Linked DNA regions of Homo sapiens: region 1 is linked to region 2. Evidence: promoter capture Hi-C in human tissues and cell types (Jung and others, 2019). All regions are on one chromosome and are shown on one strand. The core of a region is centred on a gene start or on the middle of the fragment in contact, and the rest is flanking DNA. Distances in the headings are between cores, read along the strand shown. Region 1 overlaps ABCC8 (ATP binding cassette subfamily C member 8). Region 2 holds the start of OTOG (otogelin).

Region 1 (4,347 bases), core at 1,791-4,290, 140 kb before region 2:
GGGCCTTTGCACACACTATTCCCTTTTCCTGGAAGGCTTTTGCCCTTGCTCTTCATAAGGCTGGCTCAACTCAACCTTCAGGGCTTGCCTTAAATGCTGCCTCCTCAGAGAGGCTCTTCCTGGCTACTACCTTACTATAAAGTAGGTTTCCCCTATTATTGTCTGCAACCTGTTTGCTCCACAGTATCTGCTGTACATGCATTTCTCTAGCTATTTATAATCATCTCCCTCAATAGACTGCAAATTCCATGAAGATGTTTTATTCACCAATATACCCCAGCACCTGGCACTATCAATAAATATTTGTTGGATGAATGCATGGCACTCCCCTGACCCTCTGAAATTGATGGAATCTCTCTGCACAGGGAACTCTGGAGGCTTCTTTCTCATCCTTAGGTCCTCATCATGTTTTCCCTGAGTTACTGCGCATGGACCTGCCTCCTTTCTCTGATCAACCTGGGCTGCCGTCATCACTCTCCTTGGCCGCTTCCCTCAGACCTTGCTGACGTAGGCCCGGCCCAGAGGAGATGCAGGAGCACTTGTTTGATGATGGAGGAAGGAACGAAAGAAAAGCTGCCTCATCATCGCTGGTTTGATAGGACCAAACTCAGGGGACACGGAGGCACCCAAGACGTACCTTACTGGGCATTTGCTTTTCACCCTGGAAGGTGTTAGTTCAGCTTTGATTGTCTCTGCGTGGAGAGAGGGCATGTGTCTGAGGGGACTGAAGGGAGGTTCTGAGGTGGGAGAGAGCATGCTACTGCACACCCCCAGGGTGGAGACGTGTGGGAGGGTGACGTGTCTGCAGTGAGTGTGAAACCATGCCTGAAGGGTAGAGTAAGTGCGTGTTGAAAATGTGTGTGCATCAGGGCATGTGCGTGTTATAGGAGTGTGAGGCGCTCAGCGTATGTGGGTCTCAGGACTGTGTGAGTTGAGGGTCGGCAAGTGTGAGATGGGAGCTTCTGCCACAGGCGTGCGACAGTGTGTCTGAGGACTAGAAAAGAGCCCCAGCCTCGGAGCCATGTAAACCCAGGTTGGAGCCTGAACATCACAACTTCCTGGCTGTGTATCAGGACTGAGACTCAGTTTTCTTATGAAAAAAATGGGGAAGTGATAGTTCCTACATGAACGAAAACAACCTCCGAGCCCGCCACTGAGCCCAGTGCTGGGCACTCTTGAAACTCTTTTGGGAAAAAATAAGATCTCTTAGGAAAGCCCAGAAGGTCAGGCAAACCTGGGTTCCAAGCTCAGCGCCAGCCCCCGCAGTCTGTGTGACCTTGGATTGATTACCCAGCCTCTCTGGGTCTCGCTTCTGCATCTGGAGAATGTGGCGATTCGTACCTATGTTATGTGGTCCTTGTGAGGATTAAATGTAATAATGCACATACAACACTTAGCACGGTGCCTGGCATACAGTAAGTGGGCAATCAATAAGTGCTAATAGCTCTCAACAGGCTGCTGGATTAAAGCCAATGCATTAAATGTGTATGGGGTTGATTAAAAAGCCTTTCATTCAAATTTAAAAATCATTCACCGTGTCAGTAGGGTGTGGAAGACCTCACTGGGTAGCAGTGGCTCTGGCTGACCACAGGTTTGGCCTGATCTGAGGCTGTTTACAGGAAGCTGGGATCTGCACACAAGGGGCTGTGGCCCACTCTAGAAGAGTCACCATCTCTCTACCCCAGGGCCCTCTGAGACACCAATTGAGAGAGGGAAATCACCAAAACTTAGAGCAAAGGCTAGGCTCAGTAATGTCGAGGGACCTGGAAGTTGAAGGAACGGGAGAAGTTCAGGCTTGAGAAGAGGAGGCTGGGAGGAGACTCTAGAGTCATAATCCAGTCCCCAGCAAGCTTCTTTGTGGAAGACACAGCATAGGCTTGTCCAGGGGCAAGGGATGTCCAGGGAGCAGCGCCAAGGCCAGGGCAGAGCTTTGCTCTGCTCTTCTTTACTTAGACAAGATCCCTAAGAGGTGGATTTCCACTGGCCCTAGGTGCTCCAGGGTGGGCAGAGGGGCCTGGATACCTCTCCAGGGCTGAAGCTGGACTTCAGGGGTTGGGGGGAGGAGATGTAAGCCTCTCTGGCCCTTGGCTGGTCCTTGTGCCCTATGGTTACTCCTGGACACAGTGCTTGGTGTCTCATGGTTACTGTCATACTTCGTGCAGCTGTGCCACCCTAAAAATAACCTATTATCACTCTCTGGATGAAGATGAGAAAAGAGCCCAACTTTGTGTGTCAGGGGTCTCTGGCCTGCCTGACTGGAAGAGAGATGCCTCTGGAGATCAGACAGACTCTTGGGGAGTGGGAAACAACAGCTTCCCTCATTCCCCAGGCAACCTCAGATGCTCCTGTCCACCCCAACATCACCACTCAGGGTAGTGAGACGATGGCAGGGGCACTGAAGTTTTCAGGAATTCCTCAGCCTGGTGAACTCCTGCCCCTCCTTTGAGTCCTAGTTCTGATGACACCTCTGGTACAAAAACCTTCCCGGACTGTCTCTCTTCTATGCTCCCACAGCCCTTGAATCCGCTTTTTTCAGAATACTTGTCACGTGGATTTATCCTGGCCTGCTCAAAGTCTGGGCTGTAAACGCCTGCAGGGCAGCGGCTTATTTGACTCATCTTTTTAGTGCCTGGCATGGGGCTTAGCACATAGTCGGGGCTTAGTAAATGTTTGTTGCATGAACAAATAGGTTCAAGTCTGGGCTTTGTGGCACCTTACACAGAGAGGTTATAGAACGTCTCTGTGCCTCAGTTTCCTTGTCTGTGCAATGGAAATGACCATTCTCAGCACCGAGGGTTGCAGTGCAGAATGAGTGGGATTGGCCTGTACAGTACTCAGCATAGTGTTTGGCACACAGGGGCTCCTTAATAAAAGAAGGGCTTAGGGTGGCCCGCACCTAAGGCCCTTTCTAGCGTTGATACATGAAGACTTGTCCCAGCTTTGTCTCTTTTCATGCTCTGCCTCACAGAGGTCCTGGGCTTGTCTACAGAGCTGGAATTTTCCTCTCTAGAACATTCAGTGGGAGCCCACCTGGCCTGTCCCTGCTGGTGGATATCCCTTGGGCCTTGGGACCTGAGGCAGCTTGAGAGAGAACGTGTCCTTGGCCTTCCCAAGTGGAGTCCTGAGAATCAAATCTCATGGCCTGTGCCCCCTGGCCCCACCCCTGTTCCACTCCTACCTTGGGGGAATGTGGACTCGTACCTGAAGGCCCGGATGGTGGTGAGTCCTTCTACGGTTTCGGCAAAGTGTGAGAGAAGTGGAAGCTGGGTGGTGTCATCCAGCTGCTGCAGGTCCCTGTGGCGGGGAACAGAGTGGAACAGTTAAGAGGGCAGGCTCAGGGCTCGGCCTGGGCCTGAAGCCTAGCTCCACCTGCTACCGCTGTGTGGGTGAATGGCCTTACCTCTCTAGGCCTCAGCTTCTTACCCCGTGAAGGGGGAAGACAATGCCACCAGCCCATTGAGCTTTTGTGAGCACTGAATGAGATCGTTTATGTACAATGCTTAGACACAGCCTGATGTGGGGCACAATTACTGCTGTCCTGGGCATTGTCAACCCCAGGTCGCCATCTGTCCCTGTACTTCTGCTGCACAGCCTGGAGCTGAGCTAAGGCTGGGCAGGCAGTGCTAGTTCCATTTTACAGGTGAACAATCTGAACCTTGAGACAGCTGGCCAAAGGAACAGAAGACCAAACTCAAAGCGTTCAACCCCGTCTTCCGCTTACCCCATCAAGGAGCTCTTTAGACCCTGGCCAGTGATGTGCTGAAATGATAGGTTTCGTCTCGGGGTAAGGCCAGAGGTTTCCATGGCAACAGAATTGCCTCCTGCTCCCCAAAGCTGCACCTCGACAAGCACATCAGTGCCAGGGAGGCCAGTTTGGGATGCAGGAAGTTGATTTCCCTGATAAACCATCTCCAGGGTCAGACTGGGTGCCACAGAGACTGGGCTGTTTCTCTGGCAGAAGAAATGAACTTTGTAGAACAGCTTGTGCAGCACTTTGAATTTTTTGAGTGTCAAAAAGCTATGTTGTTCGTGTGGGTGTCGGGCCATTCTGGATCATCCAAGCAAAAAGCCATTTATACAAATGTTGATCCTTTGGGGCAGGTAATTGTGTCCAAAATGCATCTAAATTTTATTATTGCTAATAAGTATCTCAACTCTAGTTTCTAGCCAACTATGTGCACTTGGGAAAGGTACTTAACCTTTCTGACCACAACCTGCAGTCAGAAATATATTTTATCTCACAAATCAGTACTCACACACCTCCATGACCAACACAAAGGTTTCATGAAGCAAAGCTTGCTTTACTCTATGAATACAGTCTGATGTTTTTTTCATTTTTAAAAAAAT
Region 2 (4,421 bases), core at 354-2,853:
GGCACCTGAGCCCTTTGTGCCCTGTCAAGGGCAGGGGCAAGGAGATGGACAGCAGCTTACATCAGGTAACCACTTACAATTGTAACTCTGGGGCACCTAAACACCCCTCTGCGTCCCTCTCCCCAATAGCTGAAGTTTTACAAGCACACTATTTTTGTTGCCTAGTTTAAGATGTAAATCCCTCTTGGAGAAGAACCTTAAAATATGATCTGTTTTCTCACCTTAGCATTAACTATTAAGTCAGCGATAAAATGGAAAGACTTGTGGGATTTTTGAATGGTCCAGAAAAGGCCACACAAAATGCATTCCCCTCCGACTTACTTCATTGATTCTCTACATTGGAAAAGAATGTCATATGGCTGTTTATTTTGTATTTAGAATCCTGGCAGAGGTGAATGAATGTCCTTATCCAGGGGAATGCTGTTCACCTGCCACACCAATCCTTATTTTACATTGGCCATTACCCCCACAGACTCCCTCCACCTTAAAATGCCCCCTGCTTTGTTTTGAGAATAGCATTGAGACCTGGTTCTCCTCTCTCATGAATTTTTGTTTCAAGCTTCCTTGGAGACAATCAGTCTTTGCCTGTTCCTTAACCAGCATTCCTTAAGGCTCCATCCTTAGCTCTTTCCTCTTCATCTTCCTATCTGTGCCCCCAGCTTCCTCCTGTGTGAAGATAGCTGTGTTTGCTTTATTTACCACTATATGCCTAGAACAGTGCATGGCATGGAATCAATGCCAAACAAATTTGTTGAGTGAATGAATGAATGAATGAATGAATGAATGCATCTCAAATCTATACCCTTGCCTAGAAGTCTACTGGGGCCAATACCACCACGACCACCACCACCACCATCATCATCATCCTCTGTAAGACCTAGCATCTAGTTGGTGTTCCCTAAGTGATGACGAAGTGAATGATGTACAGATTCCCCAGGTGCTCAGTCCCATGTTTTTGCCATTTTAAAATTCCTCCTGGGCAGACAGTGGACCTCGTTCACACATATAAAGTTGTTTTGTCAAAGTTTGGCCTTGATGGTGGCAATAACATAGGAGTATGAAACACTTTTATTATTCAATCGTCATTTCCTGAGCTCGGGCAGGAGCTGGTGCTGGGCATTCAGAGGACTAAGGCATGATCCATTCCCTAGAGGTGCTCAAAACTGGTCATAGGATACGGATGTGGAGACCCAGGTGGAAGCTGAGGTGGGGCATGGTGAGAACATAGGCTAGGACTCTGCAGGCTCTGTTATTGACCACTGATCCCTGAGTGGCATGTCCCAGGGCCTCAGCATGGCCCTCTGTAAAAGGAGAGGATAGGGCCAGACTCATACCTGCATCTTGCGTCTCTGGTATTGGGCTTCCAGGACCCAGGTAAGGGGAGCTGGAGGTTGCATAGGCTGCCTCTATGCTTCCCTAGACAATTTAGGGCTGAGTAATCTGAATCCAGCCTCCCCTGGGGAGGTGTGGCCACAGGCCAAGAAAAGCAGAGGCTAGGCTATGGACAGGCGCCTAAATTATGGTAATAAGCTGGGTACTCCTGTCACTCTAGTTCGGGGAGGAGCTGAGAGCCTGGGAGGAGGGGCTGAGGGAGCCCTGGGGCATGAGAACAAGAGGGACCTCGGCTGCGGAGTGGAGGTGTGACCCTGCCTTAGCCCGGGGAGGCACCTCGGGAGGCTGGCCCTGCGCTCAAGTCCTCCGGTCCCCTCGTGTCCCTATGGGAGTCCTGGCGTCTGCGCTCTGCTGGCTGCTTTGTGTCTGGCTGCCCTGGGGTGAGCAGGCAGCCGAGTCCCTGCGGGTGCAGCGCCTCGGTGAGAGGGTTGTGGACTCAGGGAGGTCGGGGGCTCGAGGAATGAGAAACGTTAAAGGAATGAGGAATGGGCCCGCGCAGGTTGGAGAGAGGGAGGAAAGAGAGGTTTGAGGGAGAGCAGAGGGACACCCAGGAGGAGCAGTCAGGGGAGGAGGGACCCCGAAGCCAACAGAGGCAGGCCTATGACCGCGGGGGAAAGAGTCCAAAGTTAGGCTGGGTGGAAGAGACCCGAGGTGGGGAACTAGAGAGAGCTGGGGGCCAAAGACTGAGAGTAAACAGGGAGATCCTGGCTGGAGAAGGGTCATCAGGAAGGGAGAGAAAGGATTTGAGAAGGCTGCAGGGAGGGAGAATGGGGGAATGCTCAGTGGCGTGGGAGAGGCTTTCTAGCAGTGGGGGCCAGGTGGTGGGAGGCCCCAGTAAAGACAAGCACAATTTGAGTGGAGAATAATCCCCCTCCCCAGCCGCAGCACCCGTTCTGTGGGGCAGTGCAGAGCCACAGCCAGAGCCAGCCGGGCAACCCAGGTGAGTAGGTGTGAGCTGTGGCGGCCCCACCCACAGCTCCCATCCGTATTTCTGGCATCAGCGACCCCAGGGCTTTAGCACTTAGGGTGGGATAGGCCAGGGGACTGCGGGGAGGCATAACCCATCCTAGCCCCCCATCCATGCCAGACTCGTGTTTCCTCCAGCAGCAGCCACCAGGAGGCGACCCTTGCCATGGGGGACAAGGCTACAGTCGTGGGAGGCCAGGTAAGGGAGGTCTTGGGAGGGGGCTTCATTGAGCAGGAGCTCATGTCTATCTGGATCTGAGGCTGGCAGGGAGCTCTGTAGGTTACAGGAGGGGTCTCTGGAGTTGTTCAGAAAGGAACAAGCAGATTCCTGGTATGTGTCTGAGGTGTGCAAGTTCATAAAACCCTTCTATTCTTTTTAATCTCTTGGGGGTCTATAGTCCACTCTTTTTTTTTTTTTTTTTTTTTTTTTTTTTTTTTTTTTTAGGAGAGGTGGGCACCAGGGCTCTTTCAGGAGAGAGCTGAGCTCTCCCTTCTGGCAGGTAAAAGTAGAAAGATGGACGTTTAGAAGAATGGAGTTCTCTTTTCCCTGACTGGCCTGCGAAGGCCCTCAACCCTGTCAGAGGCTCCTCTCCATACCCTGAGCGGAGCCTCAAGAATGCAGGCAAGACAAAAACTAGGCCACCTGGTGGAAGTTGCAAGGAAGGTTTGGTTGAGAAGCAGAGCCCTGAACTCATCCTTTGAGCCTTTTTTTTTCTTTTTTTGAGTCGGGGTCTTGCTCTGTGACACAGGCTGGAGTGCAGTCGCATAATCATAGTTCACTGCAGCCTCAACTTCCTGGGCTCAAGTGATCCTGGTGCCTCCGTTACCTGAGTAGCTAGGACTATAGGTGTGTGCCACCATGCCTGGTTGAATTTCAATTTTTTTGGTAGAGACAGAGTCTCACTATGTTGCCCAGGCTGGTCTTGAACTCCTGGCCTCAAGTGATCCTTCTGTGTCAGCCTCCCAAAGTGCTGGGATTAGGCATGAGCCACTGAGCCCGGCCTCTATCCTTTGAGTCTTGACCATTCCACTGCCCATCTTCCCACGGTCCTCTGTGTTTGTGGGAGAGGTGGCAGTTTTGTTTTCTCCCTTTGCCAAACTTCTTTGGTCTCTGGATCAGGTGACTCAGGTCTACTTTCTAATCCTGGCCCGCATTTGTCTCCCTCTTTCTATAACTACAGATGAGCTATAAGTTCCACCCACCTGCAGCTAGGTCCCCCAAAGCAGCTGAGCCTCAGCTCAAGTGCCCCTGCCCCAGCCCCAGCGGTCAGCTCTGGGGAGCCCCTTGAGCCAGCAGATTGGGGAGAATCGTTTATGACAGCAATGAGTCCCAACTCCTGCCCTTTGGAAATAGACATGAAGACCCCAAGGTGGAGTGAGGGGGGATGGTGTGGGCGTGCTTCTTCTCTGATGTGGATTTCCTGGATCTTTTACTTCTTCTTTGCCCACACTTCCAGGCCCTAAGATTTAGAATCACAGTCAAATACTGCTTGAGTTGGAAGGTATTGGAGTCATTTTTTTGTAGGTAGGGAAATTGAGGTGGGTGGATGACTTGTGGGGGCCCTGCAATGAGCAGGTGGAGCAAAGTCTACTGGCAGAGCCAGGCCGTGCATACAGGACTTCAGGAATCCCCATGTTTTAGTGGGGGAGATGACCCTTCTCCAAACACTTCATTTCCCTGTGGGTATCCTCCCGTGCTGGTTTCCAGGGTAGGCATCCCGCCTTTTCCTTGGGGAAGGGTCATAAGTGAGTGGACCAGGCAACCTGGGGAGGTTTCTCACGCTGCTCCTCAGAGCAACGAGGAATTAGAATGGCCTCCCTCTAAGGTGACAGGAGTTGGGGGGTGGGGGACTGAGGCTCATGTACCAGGGATACTTCAAGGGCTCCTGTTTGGAATGCCCTCTTCATGAAGTGGGGGTGTGCCCCAGACCAGTAGGCAACCAATCTTCATTTCAATGCTGTCCCGCTTCTACAGAGCTCAACCATTTTCTAGAGAATTGTTGTAGACAGGGGTCCATGGATGGGGGAAAATAAAAACACATTGTTATTTACAGAAACCTCAA

What was found. Contacts are between HindIII fragments. The study calls those that stand out against the background at their distance.
Region 1: a contact is called between a fragment that was not itself captured here and the fragment with the promoter of OTOG in region 2, in 4 of the 25 tissues and cell types used here (bladder, mesendoderm cells, ovary and 1 more).

What each region holds. Positions count from the first base shown.
Region 1 is chr11:17,399,460-17,403,806 of GRCh38, forward strand. ABCC8 (ATP binding cassette subfamily C member 8) reads right to left here. Exons shown (of 39, transcript NM_000352.6): 29 at 3,202-3,294. Among named protein-coding and RNA genes, the nearest start is that of KCNJ11, 13 kb to the left of the region's middle. The HindIII fragment of the contact is 5,275 bases long and covers 404-4,347 here.
Region 2 is chr11:17,545,656-17,550,076 of GRCh38, forward strand. It overlaps OTOG (otogelin), which reads left to right and starts at 1,604. Exons shown (of 56, transcript NM_001292063.2): 1 at 1,604-1,811; 2 at 2,272-2,332; 3 at 2,497-2,557. The coding sequence starts at 1,718. The HindIII fragment of the contact is 5,491 bases long and covers 1-4,421 here.